Regions from separate parts of the Homo sapiens genome. Here regions 1 and 3 are each linked to region 2. Evidence: promoter capture Hi-C in 16 types of primary human blood cells and fetal thymus (Javierre and others, 2016). All regions are on one chromosome and are shown on one strand. Each heading gives the region's core, a stretch centred on a gene start or on the middle of the fragment in contact. The rest is flanking DNA. Distances are from core to core; before and after follow the strand shown. Region 1 overlaps LOC105374615 (a long non-coding RNA gene). Region 2 holds the start of PNPT1 (polyribonucleotide nucleotidyltransferase 1). Region 3 has its middle 580 kb from the start of VRK2.

Region 1 (4,766 bases), core at 1,751-4,250, 1.6 Mb before region 2:
ACTAGAGCGCTAGACATGTTCTTTTTAATGTTATTCTATCATTTTTTTCCAAAATAAAATAATATAGCTGCAAACCAAGTAGATAGTAAAAATAAATAAGCATGATGTGACTAATTTGCATAATACAGGCTACCTAAGCCTTTATTTATTCTATAATCTTTCAACAGCAATTTATTTTTCAACAGCTCTAAGCTTGGTTTTGTTACTATTCTTAGCTTGTTTTTTTTTGTTACAATCTTTATTTCTTCTCTTTGTAAGTGTTGAAAATTTTAATGCTCCTCTATTGACAGAAAGGGATGGCATATTTGAACTTTCATTCTGCCTAACCTTTGTTCTATTCCTGTTGTGAAGATTTTGCCCCAGACATTGCACTGGTCAAGGTTTAGTTACTGAAAAAATAATCCATTCCAGACAGTTTAAACAGAAATTGTTTAACACTGGGCATTAAATGGCTTATGAAGTTGTTGGCAGGGCTAATGAAAGAGGCTCTTGGTCACTCACTCTCAATCTGAGCTTCGTATCACAAGCATCTGGGTTGCTTTTTTAGAATATCAATTCGGGAATCCATTGCTGACATAATGAATCAAAACCTTTGGGCATAAACTCCCCTGGAAATTCAAATGTTGAGATCAGATAGAGATCCACTTTGAGGCTGAAGTTTTAGGATGGACTTTTACTGCAGAACTGGGCCATCAAGGGATCTACTGATCCTGCAATAGGAAACCATTTGCTGAATTGGGAAGTTGTTGCTATAGCTGCTGGATTCAAAACAATGCATCCCCTGCCATCATCAGAAGCTGCCATGCTCTGGAAACTGCCACATCCAAAAAGCTGCCACTCCGGGACCCGCCAAGCTTGCTATGATATTAATTAGTAAAACAGATGTCCTGTGCCCTGCCTCTTGGTGCCCCACAAGCCAGTGAACAGTCAGTTAACAATGGCACAGAATAACTAAACTCCTCCGCGACTGTGCTTATCACAGAACCAGCAGCAGATGGCCCCTGCCTCACTCATACCCTCCCTCCACATCTACAATTTTAATTCTGCTGGTGGAAACTCTATCACATGAGGAATCTTAATTGCAAGAATGTCCAGGGTTTGTAGCTTTAAACTTCCCAGCCCTACAGAAACAGAAAGTCCAGCTAGAAAGAGATTGCAATGGATGTGTGTACCAATCCACTGTTTCACCAAGGACATCATGAAGTAGATGAGTTATTTTAAAGACACGAAGGCCCTTGTTGTCACACTAGCCCAGACCTGCGGGTAAATCTGAGTCAAGCCCTTTCGGGAGTTTAAGTGTGTGTGAACTAAGAAGAAATCAGGACGAATCTCTTCCCCGGATAGGCTCCTTGCTTCCATAGGAAAAGCAAACCTGATACCAGCTGAAGTCCACGCCTGGGGGATATTAGGAAGGGAGGGGTCTGTGTTGCCTACTTTTTGTCTGAGCTGGTGGCTGGCCCTTTTTCCCCCGAGTTGGTGGCTGGCCCTTTTTCGCCTTCCCTGTCTTGTTGTGATAGCTCATAGTCTGGGCACACTCTGTTCAAAATCTGACTTTGCCATTTTTTGCCTCCTTGGTGTGTCCAAGCAGTGGCATCTGTGATTAGTTGCCTCCTGATGTAATATTAACTTTACCTTTTTCTCACTCAATACCTTCAGATGCCTACTTCCTGTTTTCTAAAGGACTCAATGCTAATTATAATGATATTTTCCTTTACTTTTCCTTACTTCTAGATATATTCTTTTGCATTTTATATTATTTCTTCCTCTGGAAATGAACTATTTCTGTAATACATTCTTTTCATTAATAAAGGTTTTAGTATATTTGATTATCTACTTGTTCTTCTTTATGCCAGTTCAGATATGCTTTAGTGCTTTGAAAGTTAACTGTTTGGTCCTATCTATGCCTGAGCATGACTTCAGGGTTGCCTCGAAATTTAAATTATATGCCCACAATTCACAATTGCAAAAATATGGAACCAGCCCAAACGCCCATCAATCAATGAGTAGATAAAGAAAATGTGGTATACATATATATGCACATATACCATGGAATACTACTCAGCCATAAAAAGAAATGAAATAATGGCATTCACAGCAACCTGGATGGAACTGGAAACTATCGTTCTAAGTGAAGTAACCCAGGAATAGAAAACTAAATATCGTATGTTCTCACTGATAAGTGGAAGCTAAGCTATGAGGATGCAAAGGCATAAAAATGACACAGTGGACTTTGGATACTCGGGGGAAAGGGTGGGAGGGGGTGAGGGATAAAAAAACTGCATATTGGGTACAGCGTACACTGCTTGAGGGATGGGTGCACCAAAATCTCAGAAATCACCACTAAAGAACTTATTCATGTAACCAAACATCACATGTTCCCCCAAACCTATTGAGATAAAACATAAATTTAAAAATAAAAAAAATTATATGCCTGTATACTGAAATGGTGAATCTGCTCATGCACCACATTGAGAAATTATTTTGAAATGTTATTATGAAAACATATAATAGGATACTAAAATAAACTTTCAGAAAGTAAAATTTTAATTTTAGAATAGTTGTTGATTAAAAAAATTATTGTGAATATAGTAGAGTTCCCATATGCCCCACATTCAGTTACCCTATTATTAATATCTTAATATTAATAAATAGTATTTTCTACCATTGTTAATGATAAATGGTATATTTGTTGCAATTAATGAACCAATATCAATATCTCATTATTAACTAAAGTTTGTACTTTATTCAGATGTCCTCAGTTTTCACCTCAAGTTCTTTTTCTGTCCCACGATCCCACCAAGGATACTAACATTGCATCTAGTCATCAGGTCTCCTTAGGCTCCTGGTAGATGCTTCTCAGGCTTTCTCTGTTTCTGATGACCTTGACAGTTTTGAGGATTACTAGTCAGGCATTTCGTAGAATTAAATTATATTCTCTTCAATTTTTAATTTTATTTTTAAACTTCACGTAAGCATTTTAAACACACACAAAATTAGAGAATAGTATAATGAATCCCCATCTACCCAAGACCCAGCTTCAAAACTGTCACCATTTCCAAGTTTATTCTATCTAAACTGTCCTACCTGCCAACCCTGAGGATTTTAAATCAAGCGCCAAATATTATATCATAGTACCCTTATGTATTTCAGTACATGCCTCTAACAGATAAGGCCTTTAAAGAATATACCCACGATGCCGTTATCACAGTGACAAAGTTAATGATGATTCTGTAATGTTTAGTAGTCAGCCTACATTCAAAGTTCCCCAATGGTCTAAAAAATGTCTTGTTCAAGTTTACGTACTCAAATCAGGATCCAAACAAGGTATATGTATTGAATTCTGTTGATTTGAAAAACAGGACTTTTATCTCTGCTTTAGCTGAGACCTGGGACTGAAAACAAAACCATAGTTATAGCTACATTTTGAGATGAGGTGCTAAACTCCCTGTGTTGTGCAAAAGGGGCATTTTAAAAGAGTTTTAAGATTTTTAGTCCAACACCCACCTCAGGATCCAGAGTATTTCTTTGGGGAAATGCAGTAGGGAACTGTGGCTTTTTTCCCTCCCACCGTGGGAGAGAGAAGCAAGGTGTCGCCCCATCACCCCAAGCTCAGTGAGACAGTCTTTAAGAAAACCTCTCTGAGAACTCGGTGTTTACTCCTTGGAGCTAGAAAGACACGTTGACCGATACCTGAGGAAAGGAAAGAGGAAAGGCTGTGGCTGGAGATGTCTGAAAAATGACTGCCAAGCAGAGCAAAGAGAGGTGGTTGAGTTCAGAGCAATCTGTGACTTCTATCACTGGTAGGGCAGAGATATGAGCCTCCATAACTAGATATGATGGGAGGGAGGGATGTGGTCCTGTGGTCAGTTTAAAATGGATCCCACCCAGATGGCCTTCTTGCTGGGGGCTAGTCTCTTTCAGCAGAAAGAGGTTGGAGGTGTAGCATTTAATACAGAAGCTGGGATGGGGCACTTAATACAGAAGCTGGGATACGGCTGTAGAGAGAACTGGCATAGCCTAACAAGGGAGCAGCAGTCAAGAATTCCAAGTGGGGTGAAGCTCTGAGTCCCTACAAAAAGAATCCTGCAAAATAAGTAGTCAGCTTTGAATATTCACCATTCCCAGAGAGCCTAAATGGATTTCAAAAGTACTTGTTTGTTCCCATTTTCAGCTAGGTAGGGGGAAACTAAGGCAAGGGCGGGGGGGACCAACCATGCCCTCTCCTCACTTCAGCATACTCAGTACCAAGCTGGGAGAGGGAAGACACTTTAATGTTACATATCCTTCTGACTTTTTAATATTAAATTGGACTGTGACAAAGAAAAATTGGTTCAAACCTGGGACAGAATCTCCTTCTGGAAAGAAATCTGCTTTGCTGATAGAACGCTTAAGCAATTTTCTGATAACTTGTAATAAGATTAAAGCCTCTTCTGGGAAACCAGCTACTTGCTCAGCTGACCAACAGTCTGCTGTCTAATAATTTTGAATCCAGTTTAGTAATAATTAAGCATTTATTTTACCTATAAAGTATTCCTTCCACAGGGAATCATTGAATGGAAGTTAACAATTTGTATCATGTTGGGTCCTGCACTTTCAACATAATGATTACAAAAATATTTCAGGGATAGAAATATGCCGATGGATAAAGTAATTTTGCTTGTCCTTAAAATCAATCATATCTTAATATCAAATTTCTGAGAAATAACTCTAGCAATCACTTTCAAATGACCCCATGTGGTGATGAATTTGAGAGTTACAGGCGGTAC
Region 2 (4,245 bases), core at 1,238-3,737:
CAGAATGCAGTAAAGAATATATATGATAACAAATATAATGTGCCTGGTACATAGTAGTCACTCAATAAATGTTGCCAATGGCAAACAAGACAAAAATGAAAGAATTTATCCAGCAGGTATGATATTTTATTAGTCTAGTTATTTCAACACATGACACGAGTTTAAAAAGAACTACCTACAAAAGAGGAACAGGTTGATTAATAAATGAAAGAGTCAAAGTAGATTATTTATGGAAAATATGGAGGGCAGCAGCTGCATCTTGTTTTCAGTATCTAATGCCTATCTCACAGTATGTGTCTGTTGAATGAAATGTTCTGGGCATTTCTTTGAAGCATGTGTAGTCCTTGAAGAATGGAAGAGATGTCCACTTCCCTCAAAAATCAGAATTAATGAATGCTGGGAGTGGAATAAGCCTTAGAGATAACCTAGTCTAGGGGTGACCAAACTACAGCTTGTGGCCTATTTCTATATTACTCTTCAATTAAAAATGTTTATATATATATATATATATATATATATATATTTTTTTTTTTTTTTTTTTTTTTTGAGACAAAAGTTTCACTCTTATCACCCAGGCTGGAGTGCAATGGCACGATCTCTGCCACTGCAACCTCTGCCTCCTGGGTTCAACCGATTCTCCTGCCTCAGCCTCCCAGGTAAATGGAATTACAGGTGCTTGCCACCACGCCCAGCTAATTTTGTATTTTTAGTAAAGACGGGGTTTCACCATTGTAGCCAGGCTGGTCTCGAACTCCTGACCTCAGGAGATCCACCCACCTCAGCCTCCCAAAGTGCTCGGATTACAGGTGTTAGCCACTGTGCTCGGCCGTTTTTTAAAATATTTCTAAAGGGTTTGTAAACACATACACACAGTGTGTACCCCAAAAAGCCTAATATATATATTATCTGGTCCTTTATAGAAAAGTTTGCAGACCCTTGATGGAATCCACTCTCCACACTTTGCACAAGAAAATGGTGAATTAACCTGTTCAATGTCAACTACTTATCAAAGTTAGAGTGCGAGACCTGGATTCAAAATGATTTTTTTGCTTTTTGTATGAACTGGGGTCCAAATTTTTTCAAAGTACACGTAAAAAATTTAGATATATGAAGTTTGCATTAGCAATTCCATTTATTCTAAGAACGATTAAAGCAAACTTTTTTTTTAAAAAGCGGTCCCCTAAAAAAAAGTATGGGCTTTGTAAGCAAAAAACAGAAATTCAAAAACCACCTAGTCCCATAATACTAACTTTTTTATAGACTCTTAGAAAGTTATCTAACCTTTTTTGAGCCTCTGTAGTCTTAACTATAAAATGAGGGTAATAGTACCTTTACGACAGGTTTAAAAAGATTGCGAGGATCATATAACTGGCGTTCAAAAAACTGACTTTTCCTTTTCCTCCTAACCCAGGGTCATAGTGGTCACACTTTAGGCAATCAATTAGATTGGATGACATGATATCTTGTACTCCTAACTTCAAGTCATCCTTCCGTCTTAGCCTCCCAAAGTGCTGGGATTACAGGTGTGAGCGCCTGACCTTTTGCCATCTCTTTGCATCGATCTTTGCTTTTGTTTCTCTCTGTGTGTCTCCTTGCCTCTCTCCCTGTCACTGTCTCTCTCTCTCCCCTGCCTCCCTCTTGGTCTCTTTTTTTTGCTGTCTCTTTCTGATGACCTTGTTCCCATCTCTGTGCGTGTGTGGCTCTCTCCCTGTCCATCTCTTACCATCTCTGCCTTCCTCTCCCAGGTCTTAAACGAATATTTCCACAATGTCTGTGAACTGGACCTGGTGTTCAACTTCTACAAGGTAGGCTCCTGGTGAAGAGGAGGCTGAAGGAGCCCGAGGAGTGGGACGTGGGGGACCCGTGGTGCACTAGCCACCCGGAGCCTCTGCTGAGGTCTGTGTCCCAGCTCGAGGGGCATCAGAGCCCCAGCTTCCAGGGTCCGGGCCAGCATCCCGGGGGGCCTCGTCTCACCCACGTCAACTCGTTATTCCTAGGTGGAATGTTTCCCACTTAAGAGCCCAGTGGTCCCGGAAAGTAAAGAGATCGGAAGTCAGGTGGACGGACAGAGTCGGATGGAGCAAAGAAGCCCGGCACACACCAACAGAGAGAACGACATAGCGCGGGAAGGAGGGTCCGAGGAGACACATTCCAAACCCGGAAAGGGAAATTTGGAATTTAGGTTTAGGGTAAGGAGAGATTAAATAGAGCTGGGATACCGGGTTTCTACCCTGGGAGATGAATACGCTCAAGCTGGCTGGACAAGACACCTTATGACAATACAGTGAACGCACGTCACTCCTTACCTGTTGCCTAAGTCCACGGCCACAGCTCGAGACCCTGCGCTACTCCATAGTGCTCGCACTTGCAACTGGGTGAGTGCCCGATCCCGCCGTGGCAGAAGGAAAGGACCATCGCTCAGGGGCCGGAGCCGGAGGCACGAGCAGCAGTACCTGCAGGCCGCCATGACACCCGGCACGCGGTCAACGCAGGCTGTGCCCTGATTGGCTCACTCCGCAGACCGTGGGGCGGAGCCTGATGGAGTTTCGTTTCCGCGGTGCCCGAGGGACGCCGGGGTAACGGAAACCTTGGCCACCTTCTACGAAGACTAGAGAGGGTCAAACCTATCAGAACGCGATTATGTTGCAAACGATCTTTGTCTTTATGTGCCAACGAAAGGCAATTAGATAAATAAGGTTTTTGTGTGTGTACTATCGTAATTTAAAGGAGAAGTCCTAGAATAATGTAAATGTTTAATATGCAGAGTAAATTTATATTTACTTTTAATACTAGAAGTCATAGAACAACACATTATTATTATTTGGATCTGTGAACTAAGAATTAGAATTTGGGTGGTGGGCCTTGGAAAGAGATCTCCTTCTCCCCTTCTCCGCCCTGGTTTTTATTTTAAAAATTTCACATAGCAGATATGTTACTACAGCGATTTGTGTTAACCAATTTACAGTAAATTCATTTTTCATCGACTTGTAATTTTAGAAATCTTTATTGTCACTTCTGATTCATTTTCATTTCCATTGCTAATAATTAGCAATTTATATTTCTGTCCCTTTTGGTCGAACTCTTAAATGCAAAATGCCAGCTACTGTTTGAAGTAAATATTTTGTAAAATGAAAAAAAAAAGTTTTTGGGATTTGAAAAATTTTTAGAGAATGGATAAATTTCTTCCACCCCATTAATCCATTCTGTTAGAAATTCTTTATGTTTTTCCTTGAATGAACCAATGGGCATTTTCATATTATGATGTAAATTTTTTGTGTAAGGTGATAACCGCCTTACCCCAAAGAAAACCAAACAACAAAAACCCAACACTCATTCAAACACAGTTTTAAGAATTAAAAACGTTGGCTGGACGCTGTGGCTCACGCCTGTAATCCCAGCACTTTGGGAGGCCGAGGCGGGCGGATCACCTGAGTTCGAGACCAGCCTGACCAACACAGAGAAACCCCGTCTCTACTAAAAATACAAAACTAGCCGGGCATGGTGGCTTATGCCTGTAATCCCAGCTACTCGGGAGGCTGAGGCAGGGGAATCGCTTGAACCCGGGAGGCGGAGGTTGCAGTGAGCCGAGATCGCGTCATTGCAACAAGAGTGAAACTCGGTCTCAAAAAAAAAAAAAAAAAAAAAAAAAAAAAAAGTCCGGGCGCAGTGGCTCATGCCTGTAATCCCAGCACGCTGGGAGGCAGAGGCGGGTGGATCACGAGGTCAAGAGACCCAGGGCATCCTGGCCAACATGCTGAAACCGCGTCTCTACTAAAAATACAAAAATTAGCTCGGTGTGGTGGCGCGTGCCTGTAATCCCAGCTACTCCAGAGGCTGAGGCATGAGAATCGCTTGAATCCAGGAGGCGGAGGTTGCAGTGAGCCGAGATCGCGCCACTGCACTCCAGACCGAGACTCCATCTAAAAAAAAAAAAAAAAAAAAAAAAAATTAAAAATGTTGATCCGTGATGATTTAAAAAAGAAAAAAGAATGATGAGCTCTAAACAGACAAATGATTTGCTGGCAAAGCAGTTTTCTGACACCTTGCTTTCATGAGCTATTATTACTGATTTGGGATTTCCATTCCAATAGAGGGATTACCATTAACTTTGTTTACAGATTTTTAGTGTTAAAGCAGTTTTTGCGTCTCCTCCCTTTTACTTTACCTTGAGTTGCCACAGAGTTTTCCAGACCAATCTATTGAAATCTCTCATGAAGATAAATCTCTCAGAAAACCTACTTGCCA
Region 3 (4,692 bases), core at 2,099-4,598, 1.8 Mb after region 2:
GAGAATACCTGACTGTGGCCTTAGACATAGACACCAATACCTCGTTTGCCACTCAGAGACTACGTGACTTCGAACAAATCACCTAGCGCATCTGAGTTTCAGTTTCATTATCTGTTAAATGGGGATTATAACATTATAACATCTTCTTTGAAATGCAATTTTGAAAATTAAATTAGTAAACATAAATTCAAGAGTCTCAATGTAAATGATATTCCTTAAGGACATACAGCTAGATATTTTCAGATATGCAAAATCAGAAATTTCTGACTTCCAATACAGTTACCATTCCCAATGTTCACCCCTGCTTCAAGAAGTGTAAAATTCGCTGGTAATATAGGAATCTCATACAGAGTGCTTACATTACAATGCACACTGATGATATAGAATAAATCCACAAATCAAAAAGAGATTGGCCATTTTCTATCAAAAGAGGTAGAGACAACAGAAACAACAATATAATAGAGGCATCCCTGGTATCTGAGGCAGATTGGAAGTGGCTACATTTAGATTATCTATCTTTGTCTCTATATCTGTCTCTCTCTTTATCTTTCTTTCTCTCTCTCTCACCGCCAGAACATAGTAAGTAAGATATATTAATCAAAATTGTCATTTCAGCATATCAGATTGGATAAAAAGAAAGTAAATGAAAGCCAAAAAGGGGAAAATTCTGAGTTCTTTTTCTTTCATTCACTCACACTTCTAGAGCGTTTTTCCAATTCAGAGTGTTCTGACATCTCAGTAATGACAGTAATATCCTGTTAGAGCAAACATCTCTCAGACCCGATTCTGCTGCAGAACTAAAATGAGGTGTTTCTTAGTGATAAGTGAATTTCTATTGAAGAAAATTTGAAAGAGAGATTCACAGCTTTCTTTCACCACTTTCTATGCAAAAAAAAAAAAAGCCATACCCTATCCAATCAGACATTGGAATGTGCTTTTCACTGCTGTAACACTGTACCACCACTCTACATTGTGAGGCTCTATTTATAGAAATAGCTAGTATTTATTAAGCACTCACTCTATACCAAGCTCTCTGCTAGGGGCTTTATATGTGTTATCTAGTGCAATCCTCAAAATAAGCAGAAGAGTGCATCAGGATGCTTATTTTTTAAAGAGACGACAGTTTTTTAAAAATTATTTATTTTTCAGCTTTTATTATGGGTTTAGTGGGAACATGTGGACTGTTACACAGGTATATTGCATGCTGCTGAGGTTCATAGTATGAATGAATCTGTCTCCCAGGTGGTGAGCATAGCACCCAGTAGGTAGTTTTTCAGCCCCTTGACTCCTTCTCTCTCTCCTTCCTCTTGTATTTCCCAGTGTCTATTGTTCTCATCTTTATGTCCATGTGTACTTGATGTTCAGCTCCCACTTATAAATGAGAACATGCAGTATTTGGTTATCTGTTTCTGTATTAGTTCACTTAGGATAATGGCCTCCAGCTGCATCCATGTTACTGCAAAGAACATGATTTCATTCTTTTTATGGTTCCATAGTATTCCATGGTATAAATGTACCACATATTCTTTATCCAATCCAGAGTTGATTGGCATCTAGCAAATGTCTTTGCTATTGTGAATAGCACTGTGATGAACGTATGGGTACGTGTGTCTTTTTGGTAGAATGACCAGATTCACAGATTGGTTTCCTTTGGGTACATACCTGATAGTGGAATCACTGCATCCAATTATAGTTTAACTCTTAGTTCTCTGAGAAACCTCCAAACTGCTCCCCCGAGTGTCTGGACTAATTTACATTCCCACAAGCAGTGTATAAGTATCCCTCTTTCTCCACAGCCTTGCCAGTATCTGTGACTTTCGGACATTTTAGCAAAACCCATTCTGAGTGGTGTGAGATGGTATCCCATTGTGGCTTTGATCTGGATTTCTCTGATGATTAGTGATTATGAGCATTTTAAAAATATATTTGTTGGCTGCTTGTATGTTTTCTTTTGAGAAGTGTGTGTTTGTGCCCTTTTGCCTGCTTTTTAATGGGGTATGTTTCTTGCTTGTTGATTTAAGTTGCTTATAGATTCTGGATATTAGGCCTTTGTCAGATGCATAGTTTGCAAATATTTTCTCCCATTCTATAGGTTGTCTGTTTACTCTCTTTAGTTTCTCTTGCTGTGCAGACACTCTTTAGTTTAATTAGGTCCTATTTGTCAATGTGTTGTTGTTGTAGTTGCTTTTGAGGATTTAGCCATAAATTTTTTGCTAGGGCCAATATTGAGAAGGAGTTTTTCTATGTTTTCTTCTAGAATCTTTTTTTTTTAATTTAACTTTTAAGTTCAGGGGTACATGTGCAGGCTTGTTATATAGGTAAACTTGTATCATGGGGGTTTGTTGTACAGATTATTTTGTCACCCAGGTATTAAGCCTTGTACCCATTAGTTATTTTTCCTGTCTAACATTTGTCTTTAATCTGACTTCCATTAATTTTTGTATAGGGTGAAAGGTAGAGATCCAGTTTCCTTCTTCGGCATATGGATAGCCAGTCATCCTAGCACCATTTATTGAATGAGGAGTCTTTTCCCCATTGTTTATTTTTGTTGACTTTGTCAATGATCAGATTGTTTTAGGTGTGCAGATTTATTTCTGGCTTCTCTATTCTGTTCCATTGGTCTACCTGTCTGTTTTTGGAACAGTGCCATGCTGTTTTGGTTACAGCAGCCTTGCAGTATAGTTTCAGGTCAGGTAACATGATGCCTCTGACTTTGTTTTTTTTTTTGCTTAGGATTGCTTTGGCTCTTAGGGCTCTTTTTATTCCACAAAAATTTTAGAATCTTTTTTTTTTCTTAATCTGTGAAAAATGACATTGGTAGTTTGTTAGGAATAGCGCTGAATTTGTAAATTGCTTTGGGCAGTATGGCCATTTTCATGATATTTATTCTTCCTACCCATGAGCATGAAAATACCTAGGAATACAGCTAAGCAAAAAGGTGAAAAATCTCTACAATGACAATTACAAAACACTGATGAAAGAAATCAGAGATGATGCAACAAATAGAGGTGACAGTTTTAAGAAGCTCTAATATCTAACTATGGTGGATAGAGAGTATAAGGAGCTAACCTAGGGTATAAATTGAACTTCAACCTTAAGGTCTATCCATGGAGATTAACTTCCTGAGAAAATGTTATCATGAACTTAATGAATATAAGCTACCAAGCATTGGAATAGCAATTTCAAAGATATTTCTCCTTTGTGTATAAGCTTCATTTAGTGGGGGGTCTACATTCCATGAAAATTTGTGAACTGGAATATCCCTAGTGATTATAGAAACCACAGTCTTCATTGCCTATCAATATGTTTGGTTAAACTATATTCACAGAGATAATTTAATTGCAAATGAATGTAACTTAGTTGTTTTCTAATCTGAAATCATTTTTAGGATATTTTAAAAATATACATGTCACATACTTAATTTTTATGAGGGCATAAAAATAACAACACATATCTTGGATATTTTATCATACTTTTAAAAAACATTTAAGCTTGACTCCACATTTTCTCTTTTCCCTGAACCTACATTAGCTCACCTGTACCCTAAATTTCATAATTCCTACATATCCTTTATTTCCATTTTATTTCCCAGAAAATACATGTATGTATAACATATATGTATATATGTGTATACACACACACAATGTCTTAGTCTATCCAAGCTGCTATAACAAAATAATGTAAACTGGGTAGGCTATAAACACCAGAAATTTATTTATCACAATTCTGGGCTCTGAAAAGTCCAAATCTGAGGTAGATTTGGTGTCTGGTAAGGGCTTCCTTTCCAGCTTATAGGTGATGCCTTCTAGCTATGTTCTCCCATGTGCAGGGAGTGAGAAATCGCTCTCAGATCTCTTTTATAAGTACACTAATGTCATTCATGAGTGACCCACTCTCCTCATCTAATCATGTCCCAAAGACCTCATCTCCTAGTACTATCACCTTGAGGGTAGGATTTCAACATAAATTTTGGGGAGACATAAACATTCAGATCATAATACATCACACACACACACACACATACGTTACAAACACCTAGCCCAGCTGCATTTTTGGACAAGACACTAGAGAAAGAAAGAATCTTTGTAATTTGCAAGTGCTTTTAGTCTCATATATTACTTAATAATTTTGGAATTATTCTTTGAATACAGCATTTTCTTCTAAAGGAATGCCTGTTTATGTTAGTAAATTTTTTAAACAAATCACATATTCCTCACTATAAGAGAAAAATCAAGGTGATTATGTATTAAATTCTCACATATACAATGGAGTCTGCTTTTGAACATGACTGGATTCCACTGATCAATTTGTCTATTGCTAGTTTACATCAATACCACCTTAATTTTATTAATGTGGTTTTATATTATGTTCTAATATCTAGTTCTCTTTTTTATATATTGTAACTTATTTCCTTCTCATATTTTCCTATCACATATTAGATATTTGTTTTTTCTTACAATTTTAAAATAAATTTTGCAGTTAGGTTATTTTACTTTTGTATTTACTGCAATCAGTGTTAGAATACTTGTGGTTATGACATTTTGATCTAGTTTCTGATTTTAATTGAAATGCAGTTGGAGTTACTGATTTGGGATAATATTTTCCACTATTGTTGGTAAACTGTCTTTCTTACAGTTAAGTGGGTCTCTACTTTTATGGATTACTTAGAGTTTTTAAAATTAGGAATGTGTT

The links. Contacts are between HindIII fragments. The CHiCAGO score rates a contact against its expected background, and 5 or more counts as called.
Region 1: a contact is called between a fragment that was not itself captured here and the fragment with the promoter of PNPT1 in region 2, in 1 of 17 cell types (non-activated CD4 T cells). The highest score is 6.6, in non-activated CD4 T cells.
Region 3: a fragment that was not itself captured here is called in contact with the fragment with the promoter of PNPT1 in region 2 in 1 of 17 cell types (M2 macrophages); the score reaches 10.9 in M2 macrophages.

The regions. Positions count from the first base shown.
Region 1 is chr2:54,107,166-54,111,931 of GRCh38, forward strand. LOC105374615 (a long non-coding RNA gene) reads left to right here. Exons shown (of 2, transcript XR_940093.1): 2 at 548-1,826. It also overlaps a transcript of ACYP2 not described here. Among named protein-coding and RNA genes, the nearest start is that of ACYP2, 6.1 kb to the right of the region's middle. The HindIII fragment of the contact is 4,296 bases long and covers 853-4,766 here.
Region 2 is chr2:55,691,357-55,695,601 of GRCh38, forward strand. It overlaps PNPT1 (polyribonucleotide nucleotidyltransferase 1), which reads right to left and starts at 2,488. Exons shown (of 28, transcript NM_033109.5): 1 at 2,307-2,488. The coding sequence starts at 2,467. RefSeq lists a silencer at 1,678-1,737 and enhancers at 2,308-2,427, 2,438-2,497, 2,528-2,677. The HindIII fragment of the contact is 6,564 bases long and covers 1-4,245 here.
Region 3 is chr2:57,465,213-57,469,904 of GRCh38, forward strand. No RefSeq gene overlaps it. Among named protein-coding and RNA genes, the nearest start is that of VRK2, 580 kb to the right of the region's middle. The HindIII fragment of the contact is 281 bases long and covers 3,209-3,489 here.